Regions from separate parts of the Homo sapiens genome. Here regions 1, 2, 3, 4, 6 and 7 are each linked to region 5. Evidence: promoter capture Hi-C in 16 types of primary human blood cells and fetal thymus (Javierre and others, 2016). All regions are on one chromosome and are shown on one strand. Each heading gives the region's core, a stretch centred on a gene start or on the middle of the fragment in contact. The rest is flanking DNA. Distances are from core to core; before and after follow the strand shown.

The links. Contacts are between HindIII fragments. The CHiCAGO score rates a contact against its expected background, and 5 or more counts as called.
Region 1: a contact is called between a fragment that was not itself captured here and the fragment with the promoter of SSX2IP in region 5, in 2 of 17 cell types (M2 macrophages and total B cells). The highest score is 7.7, in M2 macrophages.
Region 2: a fragment that was not itself captured here is called in contact with the fragment with the promoter of SSX2IP in region 5 in 1 of 17 cell types (endothelial precursors); the score reaches 5.3 in endothelial precursors.
Region 3: a contact is called between a fragment that was not itself captured here and the fragment with the promoter of SSX2IP in region 5, in 2 of 17 cell types (M1 macrophages and erythroblasts). The highest score is 5.6, in M1 macrophages.
Region 4: a fragment that was not itself captured here is called in contact with the fragment with the promoter of SSX2IP in region 5 in 1 of 17 cell types (total B cells); the score reaches 6.0 in total B cells.
Region 6: a fragment that was not itself captured here is called in contact with the fragment with the promoter of SSX2IP in region 5 in 8 of 17 cell types (naive B cells, non-activated CD4 T cells, total B cells and 5 more); the score reaches 10.4 in naive B cells.
Region 7: a contact is called between a fragment that was not itself captured here and the fragment with the promoter of SSX2IP in region 5, in 3 of 17 cell types (total B cells, naive B cells and erythroblasts). The highest score is 6.7, in total B cells.

The regions. Positions count from the first base shown.
Region 1 is chr1:83,951,874-83,954,845 of GRCh38, reverse strand. It overlaps TTLL7 (tubulin tyrosine ligase like 7), which reads left to right. Exons shown (of 21, transcript NM_024686.6): 2 at 2,459-2,659; 3 at 2,870-2,972. The coding sequence starts at 2,635. Among named protein-coding and RNA genes, the nearest start is that of TTLL7-IT1, 31 kb to the left of the region's middle. The HindIII fragment of the contact is 1,438 bases long and covers 661-2,098 here.
Region 2 is chr1:83,893,021-83,895,886 of GRCh38, reverse strand. The region is part of intron 18 of TTLL7 (tubulin tyrosine ligase like 7); the gene reads left to right. Among named protein-coding and RNA genes, the nearest start is that of LINC01725, 33 kb to the right of the region's middle. The HindIII fragment of the contact is 1,194 bases long and covers 999-2,192 here.
Region 3 is chr1:83,914,936-83,917,844 of GRCh38, reverse strand. TTLL7 (tubulin tyrosine ligase like 7) reads left to right here. Exons shown (of 21, transcript NM_024686.6): 14 at 155-241. Among named protein-coding and RNA genes, the nearest start is that of LINC01725, 55 kb to the right of the region's middle. The HindIII fragment of the contact is 4,769 bases long and covers 1-2,909 here.
Region 4 is chr1:83,994,023-83,997,175 of GRCh38, reverse strand. All of the region lies in intron 1 of TTLL7 (tubulin tyrosine ligase like 7), which reads left to right. Among named protein-coding and RNA genes, the nearest start is that of TTLL7, 3.5 kb to the left of the region's middle. The HindIII fragment of the contact is 4,005 bases long and covers 1-3,153 here.
Region 5 is chr1:84,689,079-84,692,046 of GRCh38, reverse strand. SSX2IP (SSX family member 2 interacting protein) reads left to right here and starts at 1,586. Exons shown (of 14, transcript NM_001166293.2): 1 at 1,586-1,676. RefSeq lists a silencer at 1,375-2,134. The HindIII fragment of the contact is 1,864 bases long and covers 1,114-2,968 here.
Region 6 is chr1:84,087,354-84,090,346 of GRCh38, reverse strand. It overlaps a transcript of PRKACB not described here. Among named protein-coding and RNA genes, the nearest start is that of PRKACB, 55 kb to the left of the region's middle. The HindIII fragment of the contact is 8,490 bases long and covers 1-2,993 here.
Region 7 is chr1:84,066,282-84,069,259 of GRCh38, reverse strand. No RefSeq gene overlaps it. Among named protein-coding and RNA genes, the nearest start is that of TTLL7, 69 kb to the right of the region's middle. The HindIII fragment of the contact is 3,970 bases long and covers 1-2,978 here.

The DNA.
Region 1 (2,972 bases), core at 130-2,629, 740 kb after region 5:
GATTTTTGTGGGTAATTTTTACCTATTTGGTCTTTTTAAAAAAGTTATGAGTTTTCTTTTACTTTTTTTCTTATAATTTCATGTGTTGTTATAATTAGCTATTATTTGTTGCATTGTCATCGTGTGCTTACAGTAGAGGTTCTCAACCTTAGCTGCACTGGAATCACATGAAGAGCTTTAGAAATGCTGATGGTTGGGCCCCACTTAGTTCTGGGGTGTGGCCTGGACAGCAGGATTTTCAAAAGCTCCTCATTCAGGCAATTCTGCTTTGCAGCCAAGGTTGAGAAGCCATTGGCTTAAAGCATTTCAGAGGTAACTGAAACATGTTTTCTGCTTTTGGAAAGTAGGTAACTATGGTTTCAAATGAGTGGTGGGATAAATCCGTCATCTCAAATCTCTTGCTTAGAATAAAGCTGATTAGAATTGCCATGGTTGAATGAAGTCCTTGAGTTTGTTAAAGCACTTTGACTAAGGCATAAATGGAATTAAGTAAAGCGCATATATGCATAGTATAATTTTAAGAACTTTAAATTCCTGTATGCCTTGGGGAAGGGATAAAAGTTCTTGTTTTGAACTCTGTACAAATCAGCCATTTGACTTATTATTTAAGTCAAAAACTAACAAATTTGTTTTTAGAATCTAGTATAGTTAGGTGAAGCTTGTTTTTAAAGTCTTGTTGACTTTGTCACCTACTTTCAATGTAATAAGTATTCTGTTACTGTAAAGGGGATCTTTGTTTACTCCAGTAACAAGATGTTGGACAAAAAACTTGTAAACTCAAATAGTTACTTCCCTGAGGTTTCAGAGAGCCTCCAGAAAGAAACTGAACTAAACTTTACACTACTCCTTTCTTTTATTCTGAGAAGTGATCCAGTCTGTTTCCAGCTTGGCATTGGGAGCTGAGATCAGTTTAGAGATGTTTTACTGTGAATTCACTGTTTGAAGTATTGCAAATTCCCAGAATATGGCCATATCTTGCGGCATGTACTGCAGTAGGGTTGGAAACTTCTCATATGTCTATATATTATGTTAGCATGGGGTCTGAAAATAGGGGAGCTTAATGAATAGAATAATTAGAATTGGGTTTAAAGTCTAAGTTTTCTATTTCTAAGCCATGTTACCTTGATTTGTTTAACTTATCTAGCCTTAGTTTCTTTTTCTGGAAAATAGGGAGAAATGATACCTAAATTTAAAGTTTGTTAATGAAATAAAATATTTAAAATGCTTAATAAAATGCCTACCTACAGTTGGTCTGTAATAAATAAAAGTTCCCCGTTTTGATATTGAATTATACTAGACAATCATTTTAGTAAAAATGATACCTGAGAACAAATAAAACCCTAAATTTTCTTTAATATTGAAACATTAATAATAATGAATATTTGGAGTGATATAGGACTCACGTTTTATGTAGCTGAATGTTGGATGTTTCTGAATTTCTGATAAACTTGACAATCTAATAAAGGTGTTGATATTATACCTTTGCTTATCATAATAGGTTTTATTTTTCATTGTGTTTATAGATATTTTACAAGAACTGAAGGATTCTTACAATAAGGAGAAATTAGAAAGTTGATAGTACAGACTGAACAATATGGTATTGTTAGGGCATAAATGCCTACGTTCATATATTTACAATGAAAATACAAGCAAAGTGTACTATAGGCCATGTTGAGATGTAGCCAGATCAAATTAATTCATTGATTGTTGCATTCCTCTGTGTGCCTGAATAAAATCATCATAATAATGACCCCACCCATTTTCTGTCCTTCAAAACTGTTCTCATTTTTTAAGGCACAATTCAAGATGTGGTTTACTTTATTAAGTTGTCCCCCATAATCCTTTATATAGGAATCACTTCTCTGCATTCTGTCAACATGTGACCTCTACCCTGCCTGGCACTTTTCACTGTCTCATATTAAAAGCAGTGTTTCAGGCATTGGGTTGAAGGTTGTGTGGGTTTCTAAATAAGACACTCTGGCATTGACATTAGAAGAATCTTCATTTTAATCTCTGTGTTGTAATTTTCTTTGTAAAGATACACAAAATAATTTGTCCTTTCTAAGCTCAACTTATCTGTAAGATGGGGATAAAAGCTTCTACCTTACAGGTTTGTTGAAAGATTAAATGGTATAATATAAATGCCTAAGATAATAAGTGTTCAATAAATAGTAGTGAATATTGTTATTGCTGTTATTGTTTGTGTATAGTATATTATTTATTGAATATACATGTGACACGTGACTTAATAAAACTTCTTCCCCTAGACTATGCATTCTTTCAGGATAGGAAAGCATCACTTGGCATTTTGCGTAAGGTTTAATAAACCGATTTACAATTATTTGTTGATTGAACACATTAACTTTCACCTTGACTTTTAAAAAGAATAGTCTTGGCATATATGAAAAAAAATTCAAAAAAGTTTTTTCTAAATGACCTTGTTTTAAAATCACTGCAGGTACCTTGTTATCCCATAACTTTGGTATCCTGAAATCTGAGGATTCCACCAAGATAATATGATAAGAACTTTCAGTGATTTGGGGCCATATCCTACTTAGACTAATGTGGAATTTCCAGATTTCCTGAGAGCTTGGTACAGCAGCACACACTGCTTGCTAATCAGCACAGGCAATAATGCCATCTCTGCCTCAAGAAGGAGGTAGGGAAATTGACTTAACTATGTTACAAAATATGGAGGTGTTATACATCATTACTGTTAATATTTTTAAAGTATTAAAAATTAATTGGGGACTTTTTAAAGTACCAGGATTTGTAATTTTACCTTGGTGTGGGGTGGGGGTGGTATTTGTGTTGTCTGGTATAGATTTTTGTTTTCAGTGTTATCTGATTATTTTACATTTTTTTAAAGTTATTCAGGGACCCTCTCCCCTGGATTTGAATACAGAATTACCTTATCAAAGCACAATGAAAAGGAAAGTCAGAAAGAAGAAAAAGAAGGGAACCATTACAGC
Region 2 (2,866 bases), core at 346-2,845, 800 kb after region 5:
TACACAGTGATCCCACTCTCCTCCCAAATACCATTTGACTAGAAATGAATCTGAATCTAAGAAGAGATAATGGGGTTCTCTCTAGGCTTTTGCTGCTGGCATCTGGAAAATCTAAATTGTGAGGCAGTGCTGGATGTAGTTAAGAGCGTAGGTCTGGATACAATGAGCTGGGTAATCTTGGGCAAGTTACTTATCTGCTTTGTGCCTGAGTTTTCTCATCCATAAAATGGGGATCCAAAATGTTTTCACGACCAAAAAAATTTTCATAACCCCTAGGCAGCAAAACCTAACCTACCTGAATTCATTTGGTGACAATGACCTGACAAGAAGTTATGTATTGATTTTGTCTATCTCTTGGTTTGAATATTTACATTTTTTTCCTGCAGAATTAATAATATGTATGATTATGGAATCTAAGCTTGAGATTTTTGGAAAGGGACTGTGGACCAATAGTATCTACCTCATGTTTTTGTTTTGAGGACTAAATGAGTTAATATATGTAAAAGTGCTTAGAACAGTGCTTGGCACATGGTAAGTTCTCTCAATGATTTTTTACCTTGTCTACATAGGTGTGACTTTCTTGCAAGGAATGACTTACTAAGACAGGAACCTACTAAATGATAGACCTTGTCTTAAGCCTTGGGGACCTGGTAACTTTATTATCAAGATGGGCACAGTTTACTCCCTTTATATGCATAACAGTCTCCATTAATTAAACAGGAAATTAAAATAAAATAAGGTGCTTGCTAATAAAGGAAGAACTGGGCATTAAGATATCAAACAATAGTTCAGTGGCAGGTAAAGTTTTCCTTAGAAGTGGCATTTGAAGTGAAACATAGAAGTTTATCAGATGAAGAGATAGGAGAAGACTGTTTCAGGCAGAGGAAGGAGCTTATGTGAAGACTCAGAGGAGAGTTGAAGGATTTGGGTTCCTGTTCCCTCAGTCTGTTGTTCCATGCCCTCCAAATTATAGGGGTGGGTCTCCGAGGACCAAAGCTTGCCTTCTTGCGGAGGCTCCTTGAAAACTGAAAGCAAAGAGAAGCAAAGAGGAATGCGTGTTCCCAGTGGTTTGCTCTGGACAGGAAGGAGAATGTGCCTAGTTTGCCCAGACCATGTCAGTCTCACCAATCTGGGAAATTGCTTCTTAGGTAGAGGTGCCTGATGGGGTGCCATGATGCCTGCAGATTTTTCCATCTCCATATTGAAGAAAACATTAGGAATGGAGCAGAAGCATTCCCCATCCCTAACTCCCCGGCTCCATTCTGAAGGTGCTGCTTTTAGTCATGTATGGGCTAGAATATGGTACTGTCATGCTATTAAAATTCCCTCTAAATTAAGAAAATATATGCAGAGTAGTGGTCAAAAGAATCTCCTCTAAGTAATGTGCCTAGCACAGTGTTTTGCATAGAGCAGGCGGATGATACATGTTAGTTGCCCTTGAAGTGTATTTAAAAAGAAATGAATGAATACTCCATGGTCTCAAATCCTTTATCATTTTAAAGTTGAATAATCATTTTATAATATAATGTGAAAACTGATGAACTTAAGGTAACGTTAAAATTGCCAGTATCAATAACATTTTTCAATTTCAGTTATTTTTATATAACTCATATTTATCCTTGAGACTAATACATGGGTTATCTTGGCTACTTTTTTATTCTTTCCTTTCTGCATTATGACTTTTGGCCTATTATTACTTACTAATATATTGACAGAAAGTAGAAAGGAAAAGTGAGAAGAAAAATGATTTAAATTTATCATTTACAGTTAGTGTTGATTCTTATATCACATTAGTCATGAGCACTGCTTTCTACACTAAAAAATATAAAGAGTTAAACTAATAGCTTAAATTAAAATTGTAAAAACTAAAAGGCATGAATTAATGCCTTGATACTCATATTTCAATATTGTTGTGAAGTTTTAAGATATTCCTCTTTATAATGAAGCATTTGTTACCTGTAATGAGCCTTTTCATGAGGTTTTTCACACACTACTTTATTACAGATTGTGTTTTCCCTCCTCATCCCCTGCCCCTTCCCCTAGGACACACCCTGACCTACAGTAGGATTTGTATTACTGCCCCCATCACAGTGCAGGAAGCTGGAACAGGAAAGGAAGGAATGCTGCTGCTCACACAGTTCCCTGTGAGAAGCTGTAGTTCCTAGTCTTCTATAAATATCACCTTGAAAGCTTTTTACTAAATTTATTTTTAAACAAATGTTTAAATTTGCCTTGATCAGAGATAACAAACATCATTTCTTTAAATATTGCTGTTTTAAAGAGAAATCATTCTTTCATCTGCTTCCAATTCTTCATGTTTATGTCTGTTGAGAGAAATGTCTTTAGTCTTTATGTTTGAAAGTCTTTTTCCCTTTTCATCTTCCACTTTCATTTGTATAGGCAGTTGCCATAATTATAGAGCTAGATAAAACAAAAAGTGAAAAATCCACTTTGATGAATGGAGATCAGAATATTAGTATTTGGTGTTCATTTTTTTTTCTTTTTGTTTTTTTACAAAAGAATTTTGTTGGAAATACCTACATTGCATAAGTATCAAGTACATGTGAATTAGACAAAACAGTTTTTTGGGGTTTACAAATTTTTTAGGACCTCTAGGATTTCAGTGGTCCAGATTAATCATAGTCCTTATTTCATTATACTCTTTCATGATTGGTTTGTGCATGGCCTGCTTTTATTTAGTATTATTTAGTGTTTTTAAGTTTATTATACCACCTGTGAACCCAACACGCAAATCAAAAGCTAGGTTCTTGGAAATAACGTATATAACCAAATGATTCCCTTCCATCCCCCTGGCTCCCCATTTCCCAGGTAGTTATTATATTCTTGAACTCAGTGTTCACTAATC
Region 3 (2,909 bases), core at 239-2,738, 770 kb after region 5:
CTGTGACCCTTTAATATTTCTCCTTTTTTCTGAGCAATCTTCACTAAATAATTTCAGGAATCCTTGCTCTGCATTATTTTGTGGAGATTAATCAACTTGGAAAAATTCTAGAGTCCATTAGTGGTTGTAATTTTAATTAGAATATTTTTTGAAGGAAGAAGATATTTTGGATCTTCTGGAGCAATGTGAAATTGATGATGAAAAGTTGATGGGAAAAACTACCAAGACTCGAGGACCAAAGGTGCAGTATATCTCTACCTTCCTTACTTATCAAAGTAGATGCTACTAGCCCTTGATACTTCTCACTATAAGAAAGACTGGTGCTGCTTTAAAAAAGGAACCACAGGGACTGTGTGCCCAGTGCAGGTAAAGTTTGGAAGATGATGATACCTTACACTCAGGAGTTTGTTTTGTTTTATTAGTTTCATTCGTCATTTTGGTTATTTTCCTGATGACAGTGAAAAGACCATGAGTCAGGGCCAAAAGGGACCCAAGAGCTAGTACTCTTATTCTAAACTAAGTATTAAGTTTGCCTCATACCTCTAGACAGATAATTATCAAATAAATGGGTAACATTATAAATAAGGCAAATCATGAACTCTAGAGACCCTAATTAGAAGCCCTGTCTTTTGCTGACCTAACAACATTGATTTTGTTTTAGTTAAAATAGGTGTAATTCCTAGAAATAAGTAGAAAGCTGTCATGTAGATGACATCTACATGTTCTCCTTTTTTTTTTTTTTTTTGATAACAGGGTCTCACTCTCATCCAGGTTAAAGTCCAGTGGTATGTTCATACCTCACTGTAGCCTCACACTCCTGGGCTCAAGTGATCCTCCTGCCTCAGCCTCCTGAGTAGCTGGGATTACAGGCACATGCCACCATGCCTGGCTAATTAAAAAAAAATTCTTCTTTTTTTTAAAGAGATGGTGTCTCACTGTGTTGCCAAGGCTGGTCTTGAACCCCTGGTTTCAGGCGATCCTCCTGCCTTGGCCTACCAAAGTGCTGGGATTATAGGCATGAGCCACTGCATCCAGTGCTGTTCTTCTGATATATGTCAAAGTTCTTGCTAGTAGAGTAGGAAAGAGTTAAATTAGAAAAATCTTGGATTTTTTTTTCATTCTATTCCATTTATATTTCAGAATTACTATGCTATCTCTTTGTCCTTAGCCACTTTGTCTTCTATCATATTTTCTTTTTTTTAAAATTATACTTTAAGTTTTAGGGTACATGTGCACAACGTGCAGGTTTGTTACATATGTATACATGTGCCATGTTGGTGTGCTGCACCCATTAACTCGTCATTTACTATTAGGTATTTCTCCTAATGCTATCCCTCCCCCCTCCCCCACTCCACAACAGGCACCAGTGTGTGATGTTCCCCTTCCTGTGTCCATGTGTTCTCATTGTTCAATTCCCACCTATGAGTGAGAACATGCGGTGTTTGGTTTTTTGTCCTTGCAATAGTTTGCTGAGGATGATGGTTTCCAGCTTCATCCATGTCCCTACAAAGGACATGAACTCATCCTTTTTTATGGCTGCATAGTATTCCATGGTGTATATGTGCCACATTTTCTTAATCCAGTCTATCATTGTTGAACATTTGGGTTGGTTCCAAGTCTTTGCTATTGTGAATAGTGCTGCAATAAACATATGTGTGCATGTGTCTTTATAGCAGCATGATTTATAATCCTTTGGGGATATACCCAGTAATGGGATGGCTGGGTCAAATGGTATTTCTAGTTCTAGATCCCTGAGGAATCGCCACACTGACTTCCACAATGGTTGAACTAGTTTACAGTCCCACCAACAGTGTAAAAGTGTTCCTATTTCTCCACATCCTCTCCAGCACCTGTTATTTCCTGACTTTTTACTGATGGCCATTCTAACTGGTGTGAGATGGTATCTCATTGTGGTTTTGATTTGCATTTCTCTGATGGTCAGTGATGATGAGCATTTTTTCATGTGTCTTTTGACTGCATAAATGTCTTCTTTTGAGAAGTGTCTGTTCATATCCTTTGCCCACTTGTTGATGGAGTTGTTTTTTTTTCTTGTAAATTTGTTTGAGTTCATTGTAGATTCTGGATATTAGCCCTTTGTCAGATGAGTAGATTGCAAAAATTTTCTCCCATTCTGTAGGTTGCCTGTTCACTCTGATAGTAGTTTCTTTTGCTGTGCAGAAGCTCTTTAGTTTAATTAGATCCCATTTGTCAATTTTGGCTTTTGTTGCCATTGCTTTTGGTGTTTTAGACATGAAGTCCTTGCCCATGCCTATGTCCTGAATGGTATTGCCTAGGTTTTCTTCTAGGGTTTTTATGGTTTTAGGTCTAACATTTAAATCTTTAATCCATCTTGAATTAATTTTAGTATAAGGTGTAAGGAAGGGGTCCAGTTTCAGCTTTCTACATATGGCTAGCTAGTTTTCCCAGCACCATTTATTAAATAGGGAATCCTTTCCCCATTTCTTGTTTTTGTCAGGTTTGTCAAAGATCAGATAGTTGTAGACCTGCGGCATTATTTCTGAGGGCTCTGTTCTGTTCCATTGGTCTATATCTCTGTTTTGGTACCAGTACCATGCTGTTTTGGTTACTGTAGCCTTGTAGTATAGTTTGAAGTCAGGTAGTGTGATGCCTCCAGCTTTGTTCTATCGTATTTTCATGCTTTTCCATGCTTCTGAAATGTCTTCCTACTAAAAAAAAAAGTCATTGACTTGTTGTTTGAGGCTCCTTCCTATTTCAGCTGAACCGCTGTTGCTTGTGTGAAACCTTCCCTCATTTCCCCAGTTAGGCTTAGACCTTCCCTTCTTTCTTTCTCCTGCTGTTCCATAAATAACACTTTTATAGAGCAGTTGTGACAAGTAATTATTTGCATGTTTGCCTCAGTATGAGGTTGCAAGTTCCTGAGGGTAGCA
Region 4 (3,153 bases), core at 9-2,508, 690 kb after region 5:
CATTGGAGAATTCTTTTTCAAGTTAACGGGGGTATTGATAAAGTCCACTGCCTAAATAAGGACATAAAATGGAGGCACAAATTTATATTTGTTGTTCAAACAAGAGTATGAGAAGTGGGGTCTTGTGAAGAGTCTTGAGTTTGATTCCTAAAAGTCATTTCATTTTGTTCTTTACATGGCTATAACCTATATCCTGAACCTTGGCAAGGCATCTTGTAATCCAATCTGTTTAATCCTAAGGGGGACAGCAGAACTGGCATGAATGAATAAGCAAAAATACAATACCACTGCTGTTAAAAAAAAAAAAAGGAAAGTGCATGTCCTGGTGATGGATGGTCAGCAGCAACATTTTAAAACAGAGACAGCACATTTTACTTAGATGACATCACTGAGAGTATGAATATAATACCAACTTGGCTTTAGAACTGCTCTCTCTCCTCTGTCCAATGACTACAGTCTGCAAACCATCTAAATTCCCCACTTCAAGGAACTTAAAGTCTAGCAGGGGAAATTTTACTTACACGTGAGTAATTAACAAATAACTTAGAATTGGCTTAATACCAGAAAAGGGTGGTGCAGACCTACTGCTATAGCGGTACCTTAAGAGAAAAGAGAAATAGTAGAGCCTTGGATGATCAGAGGATCAGGAAAGTCTTCATGGGTTGAAGTGAATTAAATCAGTCTCAGAGACTGGAAGGATTCTGATAGGCAAAGAGAAAGCCACATAAAGGTTCAGCTAAGAAGTGCTCATCTACTGTTTGGATACATGGTGAAAGATCATGAAGAAACTTGAATGTCAGACAGTGAGATCTGTTTCTGATCTGTTAATCATTTCTCTTTCTTACATTCTCCATATCTGTTGCCCCGAGTCCCCTTCCAGGAAATGGTCTGTTTCCTGGGTACTAAAAGGATTGTCAACTAAACTGAGAAAAAGTTTTCTGTGCAAGTACAATTTTTCCTCTTCCAAAGGAATTTGCCTTTTAGCTCCGGCCCCCATTAGATAATTATGAACAATTTGGAAAGTTTAAGAATATAAAAAGGAAAAAAACACCCTCATAATTTGACCAACTAAAGACAATCACTATTCATTTTTGACATGTTTCTTTCCACTTTTTTCATGCGTAGTTTTAATTATGGTATCTATATTACTTTTATATTATTTTTAAATTTAAAATTCTATAACTTTAGTTTTCATTTAATTACAACTGGCTTAATACTAGGTTTAAAATGCCTAATAGCAGGCTTAAAAATGACTACATAATTTTCCATTTGGTAGATGTATTATCATTGCCTAATTGTTCCTCATTGTCACTATTGATGACATCATAATAAACAATTATTGATGATAATAATAGCACTGTGATGAACATCTTTGTGCGTATGCTTTTTTTTGTATTTTGAATATTAGTTCCTTTGCATAGAGTCTCAGAAATAAAATTTCTGGGTTAAAGGGTATGAGGTCTTGAAGTTGCACTATTTTAAGCAAGTTTTGAAACTACTGAGTTCTTATATTAGGCCATTCTTGCATTGCTATAAATAAATACCTGAAACTAGGTAATTTATAAGAAAAGAGGTGTAATTGGCTCACAGTTCTGCAGGCTGTACTGGAAGCATGGCAGCATCTGCTTCTGGGGAGGCCTTAGGAAGCGTCCAATCATGTTGAAGGGGAAGGGGGAGCAGGCACGTCACATAGCAGAAAGCAGGAGCAAGAGAGAGAGTGAGGGGGTGGTGCCACACACTTTAAGTGACCAGATCTTGTGAGAACTCAGAGTGAGCGCTCACTTACCGCCAAAGGGATGCATTAAGCCATTCATGATGGATATGTCCCCAGGATTCAAATATTTCCCACCCCCACCTCCAACACTGGGGAATAAAATTCAACATGAGATTTGGATAGGGACCCATATCCAAACTGTATCAATTCCCAGTGTTCAATTTGGAATACTTACATGTTGATTATAGAATATTTGCATATTAATAATTCATAACACCCAATCTTGTCTGTGGCTCCTCAGATTATAGTCTTTCAAGCAACTTCTTTTGATTAGACTAAAGACTGATTAAATCATGGAGACTGGGAGAAAGGCAGGCAGTTGGTGTTACTGAGGAGAGAAGATACTAAGTTGGAGAACAGGCTTGGTGAGAGTGAGTAAGAGTTGATAGTCAGAGAAGGAGAATATGTGATAGACTACTTTCTGGTTCCAGTGTTGTATTTGTGGACTTCAGCTGTAAACCTCTGCATTCCCTCACCCACAACACACATATCTATCTCCTTCAAATTTCAGTTTATTCTATCCTCTTATATCAGATTCCCAGGTCTCCAGCTTCAGGGTCCTGATATTGCAAGGCACAGCTGTGAGCTCACTTTTGCACTCTAATTTGGGGAATTCACAAAGGTGAGAGCAGGAATTTGGGACCTCTGCTTAGGTCTGAGCAGAAGTCCTGGGCACAAGGTATAAGGTGTAAGGGAGGGACAGTTGACAGACATTAAAGACCTCTCCTGCCTCCCCTGTACATTTGCCAGAGATGACCTTTGAGAACAGTGATTGTCAGATGCATAAAGTTCCCAACATCTCTTCTCAGCATTCAGATGCTCCCCCTCCCCTTGTTCCCAGTATCCTTCCACCAGAGGAAATTCCCCTCATGCAGGAGAGAGACTGTGCTTCAGTTTCCTCTATTCATTGTAGGGATACTTGGCACTACCTTCTTGCAATGAGAAGGGCAGGGGCCCAGTGTTGGACGGGTCCTTTGGGCTCCTGACTTGCTCCTCCAGGTTCTCACCTGAGCTTCCTCACTGTCCTACCTCCACTCTCTTTCAAGGCTGGGAATCCATTGAGGTAGGCAGGCCATTAAGTGTCTATGAGAGCCAGTGGAAGCAGAGCCAAGGCAGATGAATGTGCCTGAGGGCACAACTAGGGAGCAGAGAGGCAGGTTCTTATACTATGCCATCAGTCTTGAGAGACTTGAAACAATGAAAACAAAAGCATCACATTATAAACCAAAAAGAGGATTCCCACCCCACTTTTCAGGTCCTGAAAGAGGATTTCTGATAGAAGCTGGACATTAACATAGGCAGAGTATTTTAGGCAGAATTTGTCCTGTGCTTAGTTGAAACCTATTATTGAAAAGTTTGTAAGCTCTTAGAAGGTGGTA
Region 5 (2,968 bases), core at 337-2,836:
TATTAAGCAAGACATTAAAGATATGGGCAAAATTTTAAAGTAACACCATTCTTTTAACTAATTTTTTGAAAATAGTTATTTTTAATTAAAATGCGCTATTTGACATTTTTATTTTTATTCATTATTATTTTAAAAAATAGCAATTTTTAAATTTCTGTTTTAATATTAATAGCTGTAACCAACATAAAGAAAAGTTCTTGGGGCTCTCAATAATTTTACAAGTGGAAAGCGGTCTTGAGACCAAAAGATTGAGACCGCTGGTTTATTCAGGCAGATCTTATTCCTTTCCCGGGGTTGCTGAGGTCAGAGCTAAACTTCCCAGAGCTCAACTAAGCTTGGTTCAAACCTTTTAAAAATGTAACTGTTAATGGTAACGCCACCTGGGCTCAACAGCAGCTAGACGGGCCTCTGATTGCTTGGCCAAAGGAAAAGAGGAGGATTTCGTTGGGCCCTGAAGTTGTCACCGTGGCGTGCTTCTTCTGGCCCTGATCTTTCATCCAGGATTGGGGATACGTGCATGCAAACTGGGAGGTGGACATTCCTCCCGCTCTTGTTTTTCAGTGTTAGCATCTTCACTCATACTGTTTTGGTTTCAAAGTGCTCTCAGGAGTCTCCTTAAAACACCAAACCTGTTTTTCGCCTTTTGAATAAATCCCTTGGCTTCACCAAAACTAAACAAAACAAAAATCAAAGAACATCTTTGTGTAACCTATATGCCTGTGATTTCTCCATCTGATCTCCTTTCTCTGGCCTCTTTTCTTTTCTTCCCCAGTGAATTTTAGGCTGCCATGAAACCAGGGAGGAGACAGCCTGACCCTGGCCACGGGTGCAGCAGGCATACATTTTCATCGCACATACTTTGTCGAGTGGGTGTAAGACATTTTTGCATAAACTGAGTTCACGAATGCTATTTCTTAGTCTTTCCTTTGCCCGCGGTCTTCTGCCCAGATCCATTTCTTCGCCCTAATTTTACATATAACTTTCTCCCGGCTGGATTGTTTGCATCCACGACTCCCGACGCTTGAACCTCCCGTTCCTTGGACCTGACCTAATTCTAGGTGCCCGCAGTTTATTTCTCCACTTTGGCAAACGCACGTGGCTCTCCTGGAAGCTTCACTTTTGCTGCTAGGCTGGGTGTTGGGGTTCAGTGGGGCTCGGAAAACGTGCTCTAAAGTAGCCACGACCCCGGTCCCTGCAGAGTCCCGGCCCCCACAGAGCCCCGGCCCCGGACGCTGCAGGCGTCAGAAGGGGGCGGGGAGCAGAAAACGGCCGGGTGAATCACTGGGCGTAACAGGTGCCGCAGCCGCAGCTGCGCCCGCAGCGCGCGCGGACCGCAGGGATAAGGTCTTCTTTTTCTCCGGGTTTTTTTGGAGGTAAGGAGGAGACTACCGAGGCCCCCACCCGACCAATGCAGGCCACGGTTGTTCATCGCCTAGCAACTGGCGGAGCCAATGGGAGGCGGCGGGGCCTGCGGCGCCGGCGCGCGGGGGCGGGGTGGGAACCTCGGAAACCTGCGGAGGCCGGGAGGCGGCTGCAAGGGGCGGGGAAGGCGGGAGCCCGCAGCGGAGGAGGGGCCGCGGGCGGGAGGCGCTGCGAGGCGCTGCTGGCCCTCGGGCTGCGGGAGCCGGGCTAGGACGCCGAGCGGTGACTCCCCGCCGCTCCCGGGGGCCGTGACGGTGAGCAGCAGCGCCTCGCGTCGGGGATTGTGACGCGCCCCGCCAGGGAGGGGCGGGCGGGGGTGGGCGCCGGCAAGGGGCGGGCGCGCGCGGAGGTGAGAGCCGGCACCTGGCTCAGCGCCCCGTTGTTCGGCGGGAGGCTCCGCGCGGCTGTTGGGGCCGTTGCAGGGTGCGGGCGAGCGTCGACCCGGGCCGCTCCTGGAGGAGGAGGTGGGAGGTAGGTGCTGGCCCCGGGACCGCTCTCGCTGGCGTTCGCGGAGCTGCGCCTGCGGAGCGCTCTGACCCGGGGAGCCCCAAACCCTCTCTGGGATGGAGCAAGGTTGGCGCCCGGCGTTGGGGGACGAGCAGCGCGGGGACGTGGGGGAGGAGGGGATGGCCGATTTGGGGCTGCAGAGTCTCAGCAGCGGCCGTGGGGCATGCGGGGTTTGGCGATTTGCTAGTGCAGCCGCAAGAGGCAGTCTTTAAAACGAGTTATTGGGTGGCCGCTGCAGTGGAAGAGAACCCCGATAGTGGTCTAGTAAAAAGTCTAGGGGAAGAATTTACATCATCCAAGAGGCAGGCATGTGTGAAAATACTTTGGTTTATAATTTTATCATGAAAATACTTTGGTTTAGAATTTTATAGTCAACGACAGTAAACTGAATTGTGAGCTCCCTGCACATTTTTTGAGCCTATGCTGATTGCCCAGTTAGGCATATCGCTTGGGCCCAGGACATAGAATATACTAATTTGCTGTCTGCACGTATAATGTAGGAATTTTTAGATTATTACCCAGTTTCAGGACCCATAGTTGTAAATGCCAAACTGCGATTACTAGCAACGCTGATAAAGTTCTTGAATCTGAGAGAATTGAGATTTCTCTTTTCTGGACGCTGTAATAGGTTGAGGATTAGAAAAGAAGGTGATTTAGAAGTGTAAGGGTGGAGGCTTCTTGAACTTCCTGGGCTTTCTAACAATTCAGATTAGAGTCAAGGTGTAGAGTTAGCTGTGGGTGATGGATGTCATGGACCTTTTCATGGTTCATGGGGGTTTGGCTTACTGTGGGGTAGAAGAAAATTCTGGTGATCCTACAGTTTGATCCTGAACTAGAAAGGTTGGTATGAGTTGACTCATTTAGGAGAGTGAATAAAATTTGTAAAGAATTAGAAATTTGGAGAGGAAAGAAATGCCTTTAAAGTTCACGTCAAGCTATTTTGAAATTTAGAAGTTAGAGGTAGATTTATGAATTTGGATCCAGTCGGCAAAACTTGATCCATCAGATCTCTTATCCTAAAACTATCAACCTACAGGCT
Region 6 (2,993 bases), core at 131-2,630, 600 kb after region 5:
TATAACAGAATAAGATGGTCAAGTTAAAATACAGTAGGTGTGAACATTTAATAGGAAGAAGTTAAAGGGGTTCCTGTCTGATAGCTTTTATTTTCCTTGTAAAATATGACATAATATCATGACTTAGAATGAGAGAGATAATGGAGAAGTCAGAGGTATAAAGAGAGAGAAATGAAATAGAACTTGTGAAGAATGAGAGACAGAGTTGATCAGAGAAATGTGGTAAAACTGTAAAGTCATGTTGACAGCTCATTTGAGGTTGATGATAGTAAATTTCTAGTGTTCTTCTGTGCAGCTTTCTCTAGCAGTGCTTAGCTCTTGACTGAAAGCACTGAGAAAGCACATAGCTGAGTTTATCATGAGTTACATTTTTGTTAGAGAGATTTGATAAAGAGGCAGATGTGCAAAGGAATTTTGGGACCAAGTAATCTAGAATGGTTAAGAAGAAAAAATGAAAGTGAGAGGACTGATGGATAAATGGATGAGAGGTTCTGATGAAGAATGATCATAATGGGAATATTTAAAAAGCAAGCAAAAAGGAGAGGAAATTGTGATCAAAGAATCACACACATTGGTGATTCTTGAGCAGTTAATGAATATTACAAGGTCTTTGGCAAGACTAGACATCTGAATGAACAAAAGGGGAATAGGAGATAACATGGTCAAAGAACAGAGGTGCAGTGATGATAGATGAGTCATTAACATAGAATTTGAAACCATCCAGGATGAATGCAGAGCTTAGAGTATAGAGAAACATTGTGGGCCAGATGCCAAAATATTTGATGAATAAGAAGTAAGCAAGAGACTGGTAAATGACAGCAACAAGGATGAGAAACACAGTGGCACAGTTGAATGATACATGCCTTGAATAACAAATTTTTCAAAAGGTTGGGAGCATAATACTCTAGTTTTTCCTAGTCCAGTGTCTTCTTCCTACCTGCCTGAGACCAATCTCCCCATACCAACTGTGATATAATTTTGATATGTAAATGTCAAAGAAGTTACTATATACCATAAAAAGGGGGGAAAGAGGTACCCTCTTATCACATTAATCAACTATTATCCCCAAATAGTCAATACATTACTGACAAAGTTCCTGCCAATGGAGGAAAGGGAGGAGGATGTACGCTTCTACAGGAGGTTTGAATTTTTGATCCATTTAACTATCCATGATTTTAGCTTCCACCATGACATGAGCCAAGAACTGTGCCACATTCCAGAGATTAAAACACTAAACAACATAGACACTGCTTTGCCAGATCACACTGTAGTGGGTATAAGAGTTGAAAAAGCAATGTAGTACAAGTGCTACAATTATAGATGTAAATATTTCCAAAATGGACTCAAAGGAAGTTTCCATTTCAGTCAGTTTCAGTCTATTTCCCAAGATGATCTCAGAAATTCTATACTACTCCTCTATAAACTCCTATGCTACATTTTCACCCTAGTATTAATCTCAGGCACCTATGTATCATTGTATGCCTTACTATAAATATCTGTATCTGTCTCCCAATTTAAGGACAGGAACCAAGTCTTATTTTTATTTGCATCTACAGACTAGCATAGTGCCTGGTTTAAAGTAGGCGCTCAATAAGTACTGATTAAGAATGAATGAAAGACAAATAAGTGAATGTTTTGCCTGTCATTCTATGAATTGAACTATGGCTTATTCATGACCTAAAGACTACAGCCTAAAGTGAGGCTCATATTCTTCCACAGTTTAACCTGTCATGGCTCCTACTCAGAGGGAGCTGAGCTAAGATTGAAAGAGCTAAGTTACCAGTAGAGCTAGCCCCTGTAAAAGAAGTAATATCTATACCAACATGTTCTCTCAAGTTTGTGGCTCACATATAACAATGGCCTGCTGATGCTATATGGTCATCTACTTAAGAAGAATACAGTATAGAAATGGAATATTCATTTTACTAAACAGGACTCTAAACTAATATGATCACAAGAATAGTCTCTTTAATTTTCTAAGGACAAAGTCCAGATCGAGAAAACAGGCTTGTCAGAGACCTAAAGGTTTAGATTCCACAGTTATCTTACAACAAAACAAGTTTCAGATGTCCCTGAAAAGTTAACATATGAATAGAAGACAACAGTGAATATAACATTAAACTATGGCCATAGAGCCTGGGACTTTATACCTTGTTACATCAGGCCAGATAAAAAATATGGCATCTACATTGGATTTTCGAAGGCAGAACTAATACCAATTATGCTAGTGTATCAATTTAACTTATAAGAATCCCGAATTTGATTCGGAAAATTTTCTGCATAGATACATAGCATTACTGAATCTAATTCACATTACAAAAAAACACGTCCTATAATCCACTTCCTACAACATTCTCATAATTGTGCTTTTACTTGTCTAAATCTTTTACCAGACTATAAGCTACATGAAGACAACTCTTTACTCCCTATTTCACTGGCTAGGGAATAAAAATGAACTAAATGAATAAATTAATTATAGCCAATTAAAATAAAGAAATCCACTAAAAGCAATTTAAGCTATACCACCATATCGGGGAAACAATTTATTTGCATAATAGTAGTAAACCTTAGTATTAGCAAGAAGAAGACTTATCTTATAAATACTGATGATTCTTTTGGAAAGTGCTGGGGGCTAGAGAGATTATAAAACCTATCAAGAGTAAAAAAACAAGCCTCGATGGTACACACCTGCAGTCCCAGCTACGCAGGACTGCCTGAGCCCAGGAGTTTGAGTCCAGCCTGGGCAACACAGTAAAACTCTGTTTCAAAATAAATAAATAAAAATAAAAAATTATTTTAAAGAGTAAAAAAGCATTATCTAGCTTTTGAAATTGCTAAAAATACTACCTGAATTTGTAAACACATGTTTCACCTTTAAACATAAATGACTAATCAGTTAAATACATTTATTGTCTAAGCCCAGTCTATATCAAGGTTTTACGATAATTCATTTTACTTGTTCTACAGCTAGCTTTTATAAGTTTGGAAGAATA
Region 7 (2,978 bases), core at 304-2,803, 620 kb after region 5:
CGTGAATAGACAATTCTCAAAAGAATATATACAAATGGCCAACAAGCATATGTAAAAATGCTCAACATCACTAATTACCAGGGAAATGCAAATCAAAACCACAATGCAATACCACCTTACCCCTCCTGCAAGAATGGCCATAATCAAAAAATAAAAAGAAATAGATGTTGGCATGGATATGGTGAAAGGGAACACTTTTACACTATTGGTGGGAATGTAAACTAAAACAACCACTATGGAAAACAGTGTGGAGATTCCTTCAAGAACTAAAAGTAGATCTACTGTTTGATCCAACAATTCCACTACTAGGTATCTACCCAGAGGAAAAGAAATAATTATATGAAAAAGATACTTGCACTTGCATGTTTATAGCAGCACAATTTACAATTGCAAAACTATGGAATCACCCCAGAAGCGCATCAATCAACAAGTGGATAAAGAAAATGTGGGATATATATACCATGAAATACTACTCAGCCATAAAAAGGAATGAAATAATGGCATTTGCAGCAACCTGGATGGAATTGGAGACTATTATTCCAAGTGAAGTAACTCAGGAATAGAAAACCAAACATCATTTGTTCTCACTCATAAGTGGGAGCTAAGCCATGAGGACACAAATGCATAAGAATGATACATTGGACTTTGGGGAGTAGGGGGAAAGGGTGGGAGAGGGTGAGGGATAAAAGACTACACATTGGGGGCTGGGCATGGTGGCTCATGCCTGTCATCCCAGCACTTTGGGAGGCCAAGGTGGGCGGATCACGAGGTCAGGAGATCAAGACCATCCTGGCCAACATAGTGAAACTCCATCTCTACTAAAAATACAAAAATTGGCCGGGCGTGGTGGCATGTGCCTGTAATCCCAGCTACTCAGGAAGCTGAAGCAGGAGAATAGCTTGAACCAGGGAGTCGGAGGTTTCAGTGAGCCAAGATCGTGCCACAGCATTCCAGCCTGGCAACAGAGTGAGACTCCGTCTCAAAAAAACAAAAACAAAACAAAACAAAAAAACACTACACATTTCGTACAGTGTACACTGCTCGGGTGATGGATGCACCAAAATCTCAGAAATCACCACTAAAGAACTTATTCATGCAACCAAACACCACCTGCTCCCTGCAAACTTATTGAAATAAAAGTAAATTTAAAAATATACATGAGTTGTGAATTTAGTATAAAGATGAGAGTCAAAACCACAACTATGAATGAAATAGAAAATATAGAGAAAAAAGGCAGCTAAGAATAGATAGCTATGGAACAGAGAAGAAATGGAGTCTGGTATAGTAGGAGCCTGTAGTGATCAGACAAGTTCGGAGAGAACAAGGAAACAGTCATAAAAGTCAAGAAAGAAAGAGGAATATTAATTTGACTGACTGAATGCTAGAAATGGACTCTAACTAATATAAGCAAAACAAATTTATTGGACGAATATATAGCTGCATATAGAAGGGAATGCAAAAACTAAAGAACCAGGCTTGGCACACTCAGGAACTAGGCAGCTCCAAAGAGTTGAAATAGCAGTTGCTGCCTGACATTTTCCCCTAATGTAGCCAACGGAATGCAAACAAAAACAAAGGCTATTCAGTTTTGTTCCTTTTTCCACAATTCACTTTTTAAGGAAACAGTTCAATTGGCCTACCTTGGTTTACATTTCTGCTTCTTACCCAGAGCAAGGCAAATGATTAGCAGTCCCATGGGACTCATCAGTGGTAGAGCAGAAATTTTTCATTACCAAAGAAGATGGAGTAGAAGTTGAACACTTAGGAAAAAAAAATAAACATAAACAAAAAATACACACAACAATGTCCACTACAGAGGATTTATTTAACAGTGTTAGTAAAGAAAATATTTCTTCTCAGTAGAGCTGTTTGGAGTATCCCTTTCCCCCTAAAAAACATGTGGTGAGCTTTATTATGAAGTCGTAGACATTTTGGATTAAACATACTAGAAATATTCTGTCAACCTGATGTGGTAGGCAGAATTATGCCTCTCCCAAAGATGTCCATGTCCTAATTCCTACAGTTTGTGAATATGGTACCTTGCATGAAAAAGGAAAATTAAATTTTTTCTAATTAGTTCATGTGAAAATAGGGAGATTATCCTGGACTATCCCTGTGCACCCACTGTAATCACAAAGGTCCTTAAAAGTGGAAGAGAGAGGCTGAAGAGGAAGTAAGAGTGATGAGCTGTAAGAAGCACTCAATGCCATTGCTGGCTTTGAAGATGGAGGAAGGGGGCCAATAATTGTGGAATATGGGCAGCCTCTAGGAGGTAGAAAGAACAGGGAAACCAATTCTCCTCTAGTCTCCAGAAAGGAACACAACCCTTCTCACATCTTGATTTTAGCCCAGTGAGACCTGTGTTAGGCTTCTAACCTTCTGAACTATAAGACGATTTTGTGTTGTTTTAAGCCACAAACTTTATAGTAATTTGTTACAGCAGCAGTAGAAAATGAATGCTCTCCACTCCATTTTGAAAATAGAGAAAACAGAGAGTTAGGTTAAGTGGATTTGTTAAATCGTCTGAGAAAAAAACAGGACTGAAACCAAGGCTCTAGATTCCCAAGCCAGTGTTTCACTGAACTTCACACAGATGTGTTAGAGGGTCTTACCACTATAACTCATGATTATTTGGAAACACAGAAAGGATAAAGAAGGAAACTCAAGTTTAATTTCTTTTAAAAATTATGTTAAATAATTATTCAGGGTCTAATTAAAGAGAATGAATTCAAATATAATTTCTTAGTTTTTCTGACCTATAAGTTGAAGTTGCTATTTAAATACTATCTGTTGGATATGGCAGAACCACTGCAGAACATTAAGGTGATTTTTACTTTTTTATTTCCAAACATTTTATTATATACTACTTATAACCACATGTATTCTCTAAGAAACAATGACTCTTGCTAAATAAAAGCCATTTGTTTTATCAGTAACTATGCAAGTGTAGGAGTGGCTAGAGAGCTGAAATGGTCTGT